Regions from separate parts of the Homo sapiens genome. Here region 2 is linked to region 1. The links are contacts of gene promoters, found by promoter capture Hi-C in human tissues and cell types (Jung and others, 2019). All regions are on one chromosome and are shown on one strand. The core of a region is centred on a gene start or on the middle of the fragment in contact, and the rest is flanking DNA. Distances in the headings are between cores, read along the strand shown. Region 1 holds the start of ADAR (adenosine deaminase RNA specific). Region 2 holds the start of AQP10 (aquaporin 10).

Region 1 (6,319 bases), core at 3,601-6,100:
TCGGGTCTGAGTTTGGGGCTCCTTGGCTATGACCGTCTGGTCTTACCACTCCGCTGTGCTGGTTCCAAGCCTGAGTGGAGACCGCGATTTTCCACAAAGGGGGTGTTCCTGCCTCTTTCTGTAGCTTGCCCTTCTTTGCCAGGGAGTATAAAACTCGATTGATTTCTTTCTTCGGAGTCCCAAGTTTCCCAGACAGATCATGTGCTGTGGTGGCCTTCCCTTCCCCAAGCTCTTCCAGGAACTTTAAGATCCTTTGTTCCTGATCTTGGTAGATACTCAGTTCCTGGAAATGTGAGGAAAGGCAATCAACACCTCTCTGTGGCAGACTCCTGCCACGTGGTGAAGGATGCTGGAACCCTCTCTGGAGCCCCTGACTTCTGAGATGCACGCCCCTGGGGACACCCCTGATGTCCACTTGCCTGCCTCTGGTACTGGAGGCAAGTAGTACTGGAAACCTTGGCCGGAGTCCTGGGAGGGAAGGTGGCAGTGACGGTGTCTGCTTTCCAATCACCGGTGCTTCTGGGAGCTGCCCCTTGAGAAATTCTATTTGCTTAAGCAGGAAACTACTGGGGGAAGATCCTGGCCCAGGCTGCTGGTACCTGAGCTGTCTGTGCTCATAGCCTTGAAATGGATGGGTGTAGTATCCGCTGAGGGAATACCCCTGCAGAATAAGACAGTGGAAAAAGAAAATGAATTAGGGCTGCAGTGGTGAACCTGTGGAGGCCCCTCCCTTTGCTGCCTGTGGAACAGCCCTTGAAGGGCTGAGAAGGCAATTGAGCCATGGGCTTATGACTTGGCTAGGGTGACTTGCCTACCTCCTAAATCCTGCCTAGGGGCCTGCCAACAGGAACACAGAGAGGGGAGCAGGAGGCAAAGCACGCAGAACTTCCAGGAATACAGAGGTTCTGAGGCCTCAGCATAGCCTCTCCAGCAACCTAACTTACTTTTCCCTTTGACAGAATTTAAGGGAGTTGAGAAGGTAATTTTCTAGTTACCAAAACAATTACCCCTTTAAAATCAGAACAACAAATATATGTTATTGTTTTGAAAACAAAAACAGAATAACCTGAAATAACCAGAACAATCACATGAAATAACAATAACCAAGGGAGATGGGACTAGGGAAGGGACGAGATGACCTCTCCTTAAGTCAGGCTCACCAGTGCACCCCTTGCCCACCTGTCTCTAAGATCTATCGTTTAGATGACTATGACAAAAGAAGAAATGTGATTGGATGAAACTGAACCCCAGTCCTCCAAGGCTGTAACAGCGCAGTAACGAAAACAATCTCCAGGTGGGAAAAGGCCACGGGACCTCAGAGTCATCTCTGTGGCTCTTCACTGCCATCCCAGGAGGATCAGAATTTGGTCTTCAGGGAGCTGGAGGGTTTCCTGATAAAAATGGCACACTGTCCTCACTCTTCAGTGTGGTACCCAGGCTCAGAAGGGATGCCAGAGACTTTTGCCCAAACCACCCAGGCTCTCCTGGATGTGTGGAGCTGGCAGCATCTGCTCCTCACCACCTCAGACCAGTCCTACCTTCCCTAGCTACTTCCCCATAGCTGCTTCCACTGCACGTTCTTCTGAACCCTGACGGACAGGGCACAAGCAACCCCATGTTCTCATATGCACATTTACCAGAACACCAAGCACCTGTGACCCCTTTCCCCACCCACCCACCTGCAAACCAGTACTGTCTTCTCCCCAGGGCTGTTCACTGGAGGGTGATGGAGCCAGGAAGTACTTATAAGCCTGGGGGTGTCAGTAAACACCTTGCTTCCTTTCCCTGGGGCTTGTAGACTGGGAGGAGGGATTCTGACAACATTTACTCACACTCACCGCCCCCTCCTCAGACTCTCCTGGAGGCTGCACAGGTAGAGGTGGGACCCTTTCTTCCATAACTCTAGCCTTCTACTCTTCCACATCCTGACACACTTAGGGGATTTCAGCATTCTTGTCAATCACTCTCATGGTGTCCTGGCTACAAGGATCCTTAACCCAGTGATCTCCATCCCTACCTTTCTGCCACACAATTGGCTTGTCTAGCTACTCCTTCAATCTCACTATGACTCTAACCTAGGCCATCACACCAAGACCTCAAATCCTGCAACTCTTTTCCAGTGGCTGATAAACTTTTTCTATAAAGGGCCAGACAGCTCTGCCACTGTAGCACAAAAACAGCCTCACACAATATGCAAAACTTTATTTACAATTCATTTACCATGAAGCTTTATTTATAAAAACAGGTAGTTTGTACCTGTGGGCCATAGTTTCTTGACTCCTGCTCTTTTCTGATGGTGACTTCCCTGTGTTTCTACAACTTCACTCCTTACTCTGGTGGAACCTGCTCCTCGCATGACCCCGGTGAAGCTGCCAGTAAGCCACCCTGATTCTTCCCCACTCTGACTTCACACACCTCCTCACCCCACCTGGATCTCATGGTCAGTTCCCTTCTCCACCCAAGGCCCACTGTCCCCCTTTTCTTCTCCAAAGCTTCCCAGTGGTACTGGAGAAGGACCTTGACTTGTGCTAACAGGGTCCATAAAAATTCCTTCTCTTGAACCTCATTTGGGTCTTCGCTGTGTGGTGGTCAATTGTGTTTAACAAACATGCCTTAGTTCACTGTGGATTGAGTACTCTTCTTTTAAAAAATTCTCCTCCCAGGGTTTGGTGACACAGCAAAGGTCTTTCACCTCTTTTTTCTTCTTTGTCCCTTTTTCCCACCCCTTATAATTTTTTAATAGCTACTGTATTAACGGATCCACCCTTTATATAATCAGTCTCCAAGGTTTTAAGGACCTCTTCTTCCTTTATAATTTATTTCCTAGGTTGCTTTAATCACTGCCCCAACCTAAACTAGCCCTCTGAAGCAAGAGCACTCAAATCTACTATGTCCAGCCACTACCTTGTGTGGGAGCTTAAGATCTGAATTTCCAACTATGTCGACAGTCTGTCCACTTAAATATCCTGCCATAACTCAAACAGCACATATTCTGAACCAAATTAATAGTTCCCTCAAACTCAGCTCCTTCTCCTGTAGTTCTTATTGCTAATGGCATCACTCTCCTCCTAGCCTATTAAGGCTAGAAACCTGCGTCATCTTTGCTGCCCGCCTCCTGGCCTCATCTCCTGGATCTCATCAGGTAGTTGCCAAGTCCCACCTTGTCTGCCACCTCTGTACTGTGTCTTAAATGTGTTTTCTTCCAGTTCCAGCCCCTCATTACCTCTTACTGGGCCATTGCAAAGGCCTATAATCTTTCTATCCCTCTACATGCCAATCCAGGTGGCACATCTCCCTCCACAGCCACCTATCACAACTCTGACCCTTTCCTTATAGAGCTCCTTAAATGCCACTTGCTTCAGGAGACTCCTGACTCCCACCTTCTTCAGCCCTTGGGGTTTCCTCTCCTTGAGCTTCTCCTACTCAGCACCTGTTAAACCATTTACTTTCCCTCGTATCAGAGCTACTGGATTTTTTTTTTTTTTATGGCACACACACATTGCAGTGTCTGAAAGGTAATTAACATTAGGTGTCCTATAAGTTATACTCAACTCTCCACTCTCAATATTCCCAACACAGTACTGATGAGGGGCTTCAGTTGATTCCATGGTGAGCTCTTGGGGGTCAAGGACTATGCTTCAATCATCTCAACCTCTCTAGCACTTGGCACAAAGCTGATTCTCAACAAACATTTGTTGAATTAATGACTGCATGAACAAGACGCCACTATGCAAGCAATCATTTCTTTCTTGTTCCTCTTGCTGCACCCTCACGCCCACCATATTGCTAGGGACAGAGGCAAATGTGTGTACAGAGTGAGTGCTGGCTCCCAGAGCTGAATTATGGGACTTAGGGGTTCTCCTATTAGCTCTTTGAGTGACCTTGGGAAAAAAAAATTGTGTTTCAAAGTGGCTAGAGTCAGTTAAAAGCTAAATGTTTTTTAAACTGCTACTCTTGGCCCAAATCTGGAAAATATTTTAATGTCTGTCTATAGAAGAATTAAATTATGAAACATTCATTCTATGGAATAGTACTCACACGGTTATTTTTTTTCTTGTGAGACGGAGTCTCGCTCTGTTGCCAAGCTGGAGTGCAGTGGCATGATCTCGGCTCACTGCAATCAGGCTGGAGTGCAGTGTGATCTCAGCTCACTGCAATCTCCGCCTCCCGGGTTCAAGTGATTCTCCTGCCTCAGCCTCCGGAGTAGCTGGGATTACAGGCGCACGCCACCACACCCAGCTAATTTTTGTATTTTTAGTAGAGATGGGGTTTCACCATGCTGGCCAGGATGGTGTCGATCTCCTGATCCGCCCTCCTCGGCCTCCCAAAGTGCTGGGATTACAGGCATGAGCTACCACGCCCGGCCAGTTATTTTATTTTTTTAAAATGTGTCATATCTATTTGTATTCACCTGGGGATAATTTAGGAATCATATAATGTTCAATAAAACAACAAAAAGTTGTAGAATAGTATGTACATTATAATTTTTTTCCCTAAACAAAAAGAGAAAATCCATGAATGTGTATGTGTGCGCACAATGGAATGAACACAGAGAAAAGAAAGGAGATGTAAGTTTGCTAAGGATATCTTAGGGCAGTAGGGTTAGAGGGAGAGGAGGAGATTATTAATCTTTCTTTTTGCCCCCCTTAAATCCCCTAAACACCAAGCCACCGTTGAGTACAGCCATTTGGAAAGCTACGGAATAGGAGAGCAAGAAAGTGAGCAAGCAACCCACAGTGATCCTTTCTAAATCTCTCAGCATCACCTCTATGCAAATTACATAACAACTCATTTAACATTCATTGCCTCCCAGATTTCACTTTAATCTGGTCTCACATATTTAGGATCAAGAGATAAGCACTACCCCCTTTGCCTTTACCACACAGGTTCCACAGTGCAATACACTGACACCTGTGCAGAAATGCTTTTCCTTCAAGTTAGGCGTCCTTAATCCTTTCAAAGGAGTGCTTAAAAAAAAAAAAATATATATATATCTTAACAAAATTGAGGTATATAATTTAGATACAGTAAAATTTATCCTTTTAAGTGTATAAATCTATGAATTTCGACAATCGCCACCACAATCAAGATATAGAACATTTCTATTTCCCTAAAAAGCTTTTTCATGCCACTCAACAATCAATTTCTTCCACGATACCCAGTCCCTGGCACCCACGGATCCACTTTCCATCCCTATAACTGTGGTTTTTTTTTTCCAGAATGTCATATAAATGGACTCATACAGTATGCAGCCTTTTGAGTCTGGCTTCTCGTGCTTAGCATAACGCACTTGCGAGTCACCCGTGTTGTTACTTGTAACAGTATTTCCTCTTCACTACTAAGCAGTATCCCATTATGTGGATGTATTTCAGTTTATCTGTTAACCTGCTGAAGGCCATTTGTGTTTTCCCAGTTTTTAGCTATAAAGTGGTTAACAAGCTTTCTCCTACAGCTTAAGTGCCATTTTTAACTCCCAGAAGGCCTTCAGGAGGTGGATAAGGTGAGCTGAGGATAGTGTGCGCTGCTCAAAGTCCGAACGTTGTTCAAGTGGGGCTAAAGCGGGGGTAGGGGGTTCCACAAGGGGCCCTAGCAGAAAGGGAGACGATGTGTCTGCCTTGACATGGGCTCAGGCCTTCCTACTCAGACGGGGGCGCATTTTCCCCCAAGCCCTCTTCACGCACTGCTCCATTCTGCAGAATTAATGAGCAGGATACAAATTCACAAATTCCTAAACCAGCAATGCTGCTTGGCAAGACTACACACACACGCACACACACACACACACACTCTCACAAGACGCACAAATTCCTAAACCAGCAATGCTGCTTGGCAAGACGACACACACCCACACACACACACTCACAAGACGCACAAATTCCTAAACCAGCAATGCTGCTTGGCAAGACGACACACACACACACACTCTAACACTCACAAGACGCACACGCTACGCACTGCAACACAAAGCCTGTGAGGTTGTAAACGAACCCAGACGGCGGCGAAGGTCCAAGGCCGGCCCGGCTTACCTGCCGCGGATTCATTGCGCCCGCGAGGCATTGCCCGGCCCGACCCGCCGGCGGCACGACCCTGGCCCGACCGCTGGGCCGCGCCAGCCCCTCGAGGCCCCCACGCCTCCGCTACTCCGCACTGGAAGTGGCCCCGGGGCGTCGGCACGGGAAACTCCGCGGGTCTGCGCGCCGGGCCCAAGATGGCTCCGGTTCAATTTCGCTTTCGTTTCCTCGGAAAGCCTTCCCCTCCGGAAAGTTTGGCCAAGAGGAGGGGCTTGAGCAAATCTTGCGCCACGCTTGGTTTCAGGCCG
Region 2 (6,567 bases), core at 526-3,025, 290 kb before region 1:
AGGCAAAGAGGCTAGACTTTTATATCCCTCCATCAATCAGTGTTTGACATGGGCCCCATAGGAGGGCATGTAACCTTCGGTGAGGCATCTTTCTGACTTGAAGGGCATTGCCCAATGAGGGAGGTAGCTATGTGGTATCAGCAGCTGGTATTTCCTACATGTAGCGAATGGGCATATTGGCTCCCAAGGGGGAATCTGGGTGGAGCACTATAGTATCCATTAAACCTAGTAAAGAAATATTATTTCTTTACTAGTCACACAGATGTGCCCAGGACAGTGGTAGAGCCCACAGGGTTACATAAATCATAATGGTAGCCCTCAAGAACTTCATAAACTGTATATGGTATTTTAAAAAGTTGCATATTGTCTGTTTCCACCTACTAGAACATAAGCTCTAGGAGGGCAGAGACTATGTTTTGTTCACCACTGTTTCTCCAGTGTCTAGACGTAGATTCTTTGAATGCATTTAATTGGAGCCTTGAGATATGAAGAAGTAGGATGCGGTTACTTCATGCAGAGCAAGAGTGGCATGCACCCAGAGAAGGCCAGGTGGAGCTCAGCATGAGTGTGAAGGCCTCATGTCAAGCCATGTCAGGGGACACAAAGATGGAGTATTCTCTAACCTATGTGACACTCGGCATAAGGGAAGTACAAGCACTCAATATGTGAGTTTCATTCCCACAGTCTGTGGTCTTTAGCCCAGTCTTTCCAGATGCCTATTGAGTTCTTCAAGCATCCAAATGGTTTGGGGTAAGGCTTCAGGTTCTAAATGAGAGGCTTTGTGGGTTACCAGCTGGAGAGTCAGAAAATCTGGATTTGAATTCACTCAGCCATGAAATAATTGTGTGATCTTGGGCCGGGCACGGTGGCTCACGCTTGTAATCCCAGCACTTTGGGAGGCCAAGGAAGGTGAATCACTAGAGGTCAGGAGTTTGAGACCAGCCTGGCCAACATGGTGAAACCCCGTCTTTTTTTTTTTTTTTTTTTTTGAGACAAAGTCTCGCTCTGTTGCCAGGCTGGAGTGCAGTGGCACAATCTCGGCTCACTGCAACCTCCGCCTCCCTGGTTCAAGTGATTCCCCTGCCTCAGCCTCCCGAGTAGCTGGGACTACAGGCGTGCACCACCACGCTAATTTTTTTGTATTTTAGTAGAGATGGAGTTTCACCATGTTGGCCAGGATAGTCTTGATCTCCTGACCTCGTGATCTGCCTGCCTCGGCCTCCCGAGAAACCAAGTCTTTACTAAAAAATATCAAAATTAGCCAGGTGTGATGGACCTGTAGTCCCATCTACTTGGGAGGCTGAGGCAGGAGAATTGCTTGAACCTGGGAGGTGGAGGTTGCAGTAAGCTGAGATGGTGCCACTGCACTCCAGCCTGGGGGACAGAGCAAGACTCTCTCTCAGAAAAAAAAAAAAAAAAAGTTTGATCTTGGGGAGTTCTAAGGCCCACTAGCCTCATCTGTAGAATGGAAGCAATAGTACTACTTTGCAGAGCTGACTTCAGGACCAAGAGATCTAATGTCTATGAAGCGGGGTACTTCCTTCTATTTGTCAGGATGGGGGAGGCTAGTCCTGTGATGACTGGGAATGAAGGGTAAAAGAGACAGAGGTTGGGTAAACTCCAGGCTCTGTGTTCATAGCCTGCTCCCAGACATTCTCTTGTTATCTCTCTGTTTCCTAGCCTACACACGTGCACAGACACGTAGCTGCTGTTCAGGAACTGAGCTAATGGTTTTAAAGTCTGTTCCTTATCTTTGCTGGAGGCAGGCAGTAGCTGTGCAGTGACAGTGTGCCTATGCAGACAGAGGGAGCAGTGAATAGCAATAGGGTGTTTCCACCATGGTCTTCACTCAGGCCCCGGCTGAAATCATGGGCCACCTCCGGATACGCAGCCTCCTGGCCCGGCAGTGCCTGGCAGAGTTTCTGGGTGTGTTTGTACTCATGGTAGGTAGGATCACTGCGGGAAGGAAAGAAGGGGGTTGGGCAAAAGTTCCTGGCTCCTTCTGTTGTCCTTATCTCTTTCTCTTGGTGTCCCCCTTCCTCTCAACTCCCTATCACTTTTCGTTTTTATCCTCTCGTCTCTCCTAATCTCCTTTCCTCTCCTACTTCATCATTTTTATTCTTGTCATTTTTATTCTTTCTTTAATAACAAGTGTATCATAGTTCTTGAAACATAATTTTTCTCTCTTCAGTTTCCCATTTTTATGAAAGACCATTTTCATGGTAAGACCAATGTGCTTTATTATACTTGGCCTGATGATTGTATAAAGTGCAGCAAGAATAATTATTTTTCACATAGGCTTTTAAAATTGGCTTTGATGGAACTCTTCCATAGAAAGAATCTTAGATAAGACTTTTTAAAGCTGAGCCCTGCCATGGGTTTGTACCCTCAAATGCCTATGAGTTGGGTAAATTCTTTTCTTTTTTCCCACATTCTTTCCCTTTCTTCTTCCTCCACTTTCCCCATTTCTTTTCCCTTCCCTCCTTCTGCTTTTCTCCTTCCCTTGCTTGTCTTCTGTGCTCATTCATCTCCTTGGCTGCTCCCCTGGCCTTCCCAACCTTTCTCCCTGTTGGTCTCCTGGGCTCCCTGTTCCTCATCTCTCCTCTTCTCAGCAGCTCCTCACCCAAGGAGCTGTGGCCCAGGCTGTCACCAGTGGAGAAACCAAAGGCAACTTCTTCACCATGTTTCTGGCTGGCTCTCTGGCCGTTACGATAGCCATCTACGTGGGTGGTAACGTCTCAGGTGAGGAGGGTGGGGTCTGGTCATCAGAGCACGTGGGATGTGCATGCCAGTTTGTCTGTCTGGTGATGGTGGAAACGCAAATCCTTCTGTGACTCGTGGACATTATCCCCTTGAACAGTGTCCCAGACTGAAATAAGCCTTTGGCCCCACCAGCCCCTCCTCTTTCTGTATCTCTCCATCCTGCTTCCTCACACTAATGCTTGGCTCACCTAGACAGAAATCAATGGCAGGGCACGAAGGGCAGCTGCTATCCTCTTGTATCCCCCACCTGAAGTCCTCTGGGGGCTCATCTCCACTCAGGACCTCTCCTGTTTGTACCCCAGATACACACTGCATCGGTGTGCTTGGGTGGAGCCTTGAGACATAGTGTGTTGCTGTGGAAAAAGCAGACAGACCTAGGTTCCAACTTTGGATTCACAGTGTCTTCTTCTTTTTTTTTTTTTTTTTTCTTTTTTTTTGAGATGGAGTTTCACTCTGTTGCCCAGGCTGGAGAGCAGTGGTGTGATGTCTGTTCACTGCAACCTCTGCCCCTGGGTTCACGCGATTCTCCTGCCTCAGCATCCCGAATAGCTGATTTTACAGGCACCTGCTACCACGCCTGGCTAATATTTGTGTTTTTAGTGGAAACGGGGTTTCACCATGTTGGCCAGGCTGGTCTGGAATTCCTGACCTCAAGTGATCCACTGCCTCGGCCTCCCAAAGTGCTGGGATTACAGGCGTGAGCCACTGTGCCTGGCCCACAGTGTGACTTTGCTAAGTCACTTAACATCTGTAACATCTGGAGCCTCAATTTCCTAAGCTGTGTGATGAGAATTACACTATCTGCCTTAAGAGCTATAGGAAGGAGCAGTAGTGTTGTCTGGTGACAATGCCTGGCAGTGACACTTAATAGATGCTCTTTTTCTTTCCTTGATACTTGAAGGGGCCCACCTGAATCCAGCCTTCTCCCTGGCCATGTGCATCGTTGGACGCCTCCCCTGGGTCAAGCTCCCCATTTACATCTTGGTGCAGTTGCTGTCTGCTTTCTGTGCTTCGGGAGCCACCTATGTTCTCTACCATGGTGACAGAGGGAACAGAGGGAGCTGTGCCTTGAGAGCACCTGTGGGTGGGCAGGGGTGCCTCAGAATGGTTTTGGATGAATGAGCAAAGAGGGAAATCCTGGGTGTTCCCTTCCTCCACAGATGCCCTACAGAACTATACAGGTGGGAACCTGACAGTGACTGGCCCCAAGGAGACAGCCTCCATTTTTGCCACCTATCCTGCCCCCTATCTGTCCCTGAACAATGGCTTCCTGGATCAGGTAAGTGTGAGGGGGAGACCTGGGGACACTACTTTGGTCCTGTTCCTCGGCACCCCAGCCTATTGTTCAGTCTCTGGGTGGAGTGTGGGTTGGGTCTATCTTGGCACTCCCCACCATCCCCAACTGCCTGTGTTGCACAAAGCCAGATGACATGGAATATTTGGATGAGAGAGGGCAGATGGAGCACCTGGCAGCTGACAGGGAACCCTCTGCCTCTGTTGACTCCAAGGTTCTGGGCACTGGGATGCTGATTGTGGGGCTCTTGGCCATCCTGGACAGACGGAACAAGGGAGTCCCTGCGGGTCTGGAGCCTGTGGTGGTGGGGATGCTGATCCTGGCCCTCGGGTTATCCATGGGTGCCAACTGCGGGATTCCACTCAACCCTGCCCGGGACCTGGGCCCACGTCTCTTCACCTACGTGGCTGGCTGGGGTCCTGAAGTCTTCAGGTGGGAGACAGACTCTCCTGGTGCTGGCCTCCACTCACCTTCCTCTGCTAAGGGCTCTGTCCCTGGGTCCACAGCACTCTGCCTTTAAAATAGCTCTCTTGGCTTCTTAGGACAGTGTTCTTTCTCCAAGTCATATTCTCCCCCTTTCTCCCTTGCTTCCCTCCCAACTTTTCACTGAAACAGTAAGATTTAGAGGTTGTGTTCTTAGGCATGCCACATTACTTCCATGCACATTAGTGACTTCATCAGCAAAATTAATATATTCAGATAATTCCCTAAGGCAAGAGGCTGGACCAAGCTCTCCTGGGGTTCCCTCTTCTAAATACTATGCTTTGGTGACAAGGCAATCCTCTTCCTGGTGTCTACCACCCTGGGAACAACTTTAGGGCACTCTCTTGTTACTGCCCCCCGTCCTTGGAGAGGGGAAGGCTAAGGGAGTCACTCCTGATACCTTCCCACTGTCCTTCTTTTGCAGTGCTGGTAATGGCTGGTGGTGGGTGCCTGTGGTGGCCCCTCTGGTGGGGGCCACCGTTGGCACAGCCACTTACCAGCTGTTGGTGGCTCTGCACCACCCTGAGGGCCCAGAGCCAGCTCAGGATCTGGTGTCTGCTCAACACAAAGCCTCAGAGTTGGAAACTCCTGCCTCAGCTCAGATGCTGGAGTGTAAGCTATGATTAGGACAACCCTCACTTCACTCATGGACCCTGGAGCCAGCCACTGACCCCGCCTGGGAACAACAGTCATTCTTCCTCTTTGTTAATGTGCCAGAACCTGGGAGGCTTCTCTGTTTATCTGTTTGGCATCCCTTCCTCCTAAACTAAGAAGGATCCTGGACAGGGAGAAGTGGAGGAGGATAAGGTACCAGGACTCAGGCTTCTCATCCCCTCCTCCCGCAAAGCGGTTTTCTGACCCTCAGGGCCTCTCGGAATGTAGTTGCTCGAGGTAACCGCTAGAGGGTGCGCACCTGGATGCTGGATGGGGACGGCTGCGGGCATCTGCAGGGTGGAGGGGGCCACCATCCAGTGTAGGGCACAACCCTGGGGACTGCCCTCCATAGCCTGTCCCGACTGCCGACTCCTAGCTCTCATCGCCTCGGCGCCTCCCACCTTCACCCTCTCGGGGATGCCTCCCCAAGAGGGTAGTTAGGGGTGGGGAAGCCGCCTCCACCCAGGGGGCGTGGTGGGGGCGGAGGGAAGGAGGGCGGCGGGGCACAGAGACAGAGAGCAAGGCTGTGAAACTGAGGCACCGTTCCTAGACATCTCGGTGCTGTGTCGTTCATTCAAGGAGAGTTGAGATACAGTGAAATGAGCCAGGGCGAGGAGGGAGGGTGAAGGAACGGAGGGCGGGCGGCTCCGAGGAGCGAGAGTCGGGCTGAGGGCAACCTGGCGCCAGGGAAAATTCTGGTTATTCACCACTTCTACAGCTCTCCTGCCGCTCCCTGCAGAGGATGCTCGTTTTGCAGAGAAGGCAGTGTTCCTCTATTCCCTTCTTCCGAATTAAAAATACCCCCTCAGAGCGATCTAGCCTCCCGAATTGTTTTTTCTTTTAAGATGCGGATGGACGTACGTGTGGGGGCATCCCAGCCCAGCCACGCCGAGGCTCGGAAGGGCTAAGACCCTCCCACTGCCCCGCACAAAGATGGCTGCTCCCTCCTCCCCGCTCCTTCTCCCCTCCCCAAAACCCCCTCCCGCCCCCCGGCCCCCGCCGCCGGCTCCGTCACTTCCGCCCCGCCGTGGCCGAAACTGACACAAAGTAGCGGGCCGAGGCCCCGGGGGAGCGGGGCCGCAGCTGGGGGGGCGGGAGCCCGTGGGGAGCCGAGCCGAGCGCCCCCCGCCCCAGCCCCCGGCATGGGCAGTACGGGGCCGCCGGGGCGGGCGCCGAGCGCTGAGCGCTGAGGTGAGGCGAGGCGAGGCGAAGCGGGGGCGCCCGGGAGCGCGGGGCCAGGAGGGCAGAGGGAGATGCGGCCGCAGCCGCGGGGCTGGAGGGGCCGGGGAGCGGGTGTAGACTGGGGAGCACCGGGGGCCAAGATTTGGGAGCTGCGGCCAGACGGGGCGGGGATGGCGGCCGACTGGAGACGA

The links. The method cuts DNA at HindIII sites, captures the fragments that hold promoters and counts their contacts. A contact is called where the count stands out against the background at its distance.
Region 2: the fragment with the promoter of AQP10 here is called in contact with a fragment that was not itself captured in region 1 in 1 of the 25 tissues and cell types used here (liver).

The regions. Positions count from the first base shown.
Region 1 is chr1:154,601,966-154,608,284 of GRCh38, forward strand. It overlaps ADAR (adenosine deaminase RNA specific), which reads right to left and starts at 6,221. Exons shown (of 15, transcript NM_001111.5): 1 at 6,027-6,221; 2 at 1-661. The coding sequence starts at 6,041. RefSeq lists a silencer at 5,995-6,104 and an enhancer at 6,105-6,319. The HindIII fragment of the contact is 4,982 bases long and covers 2,360-6,319 here.
Region 2 is chr1:154,319,318-154,325,884 of GRCh38, forward strand. It overlaps AQP10 (aquaporin 10), which reads left to right and starts at 1,776. Exons shown (of 6, transcript NM_080429.3): 1 at 1,776-1,943; 2 at 2,616-2,742; 3 at 3,665-3,802; 4 at 3,924-4,042; 5 at 4,272-4,489; 6 at 4,965-6,008. The coding sequence starts at 1,839. The coding sequence ends at 5,163. It overlaps ATP8B2 (ATPase phospholipid transporting 8B2), which reads left to right and starts at 6,208. Exons shown (of 28, transcript NM_001370597.1): 1 at 6,208-6,385. RefSeq lists silencers at 1,555-1,746, 5,689-5,768, 6,199-6,428, 6,479-6,567 and an enhancer at 5,169-5,248. The HindIII fragment of the contact is 14,849 bases long and covers 1-6,567 here.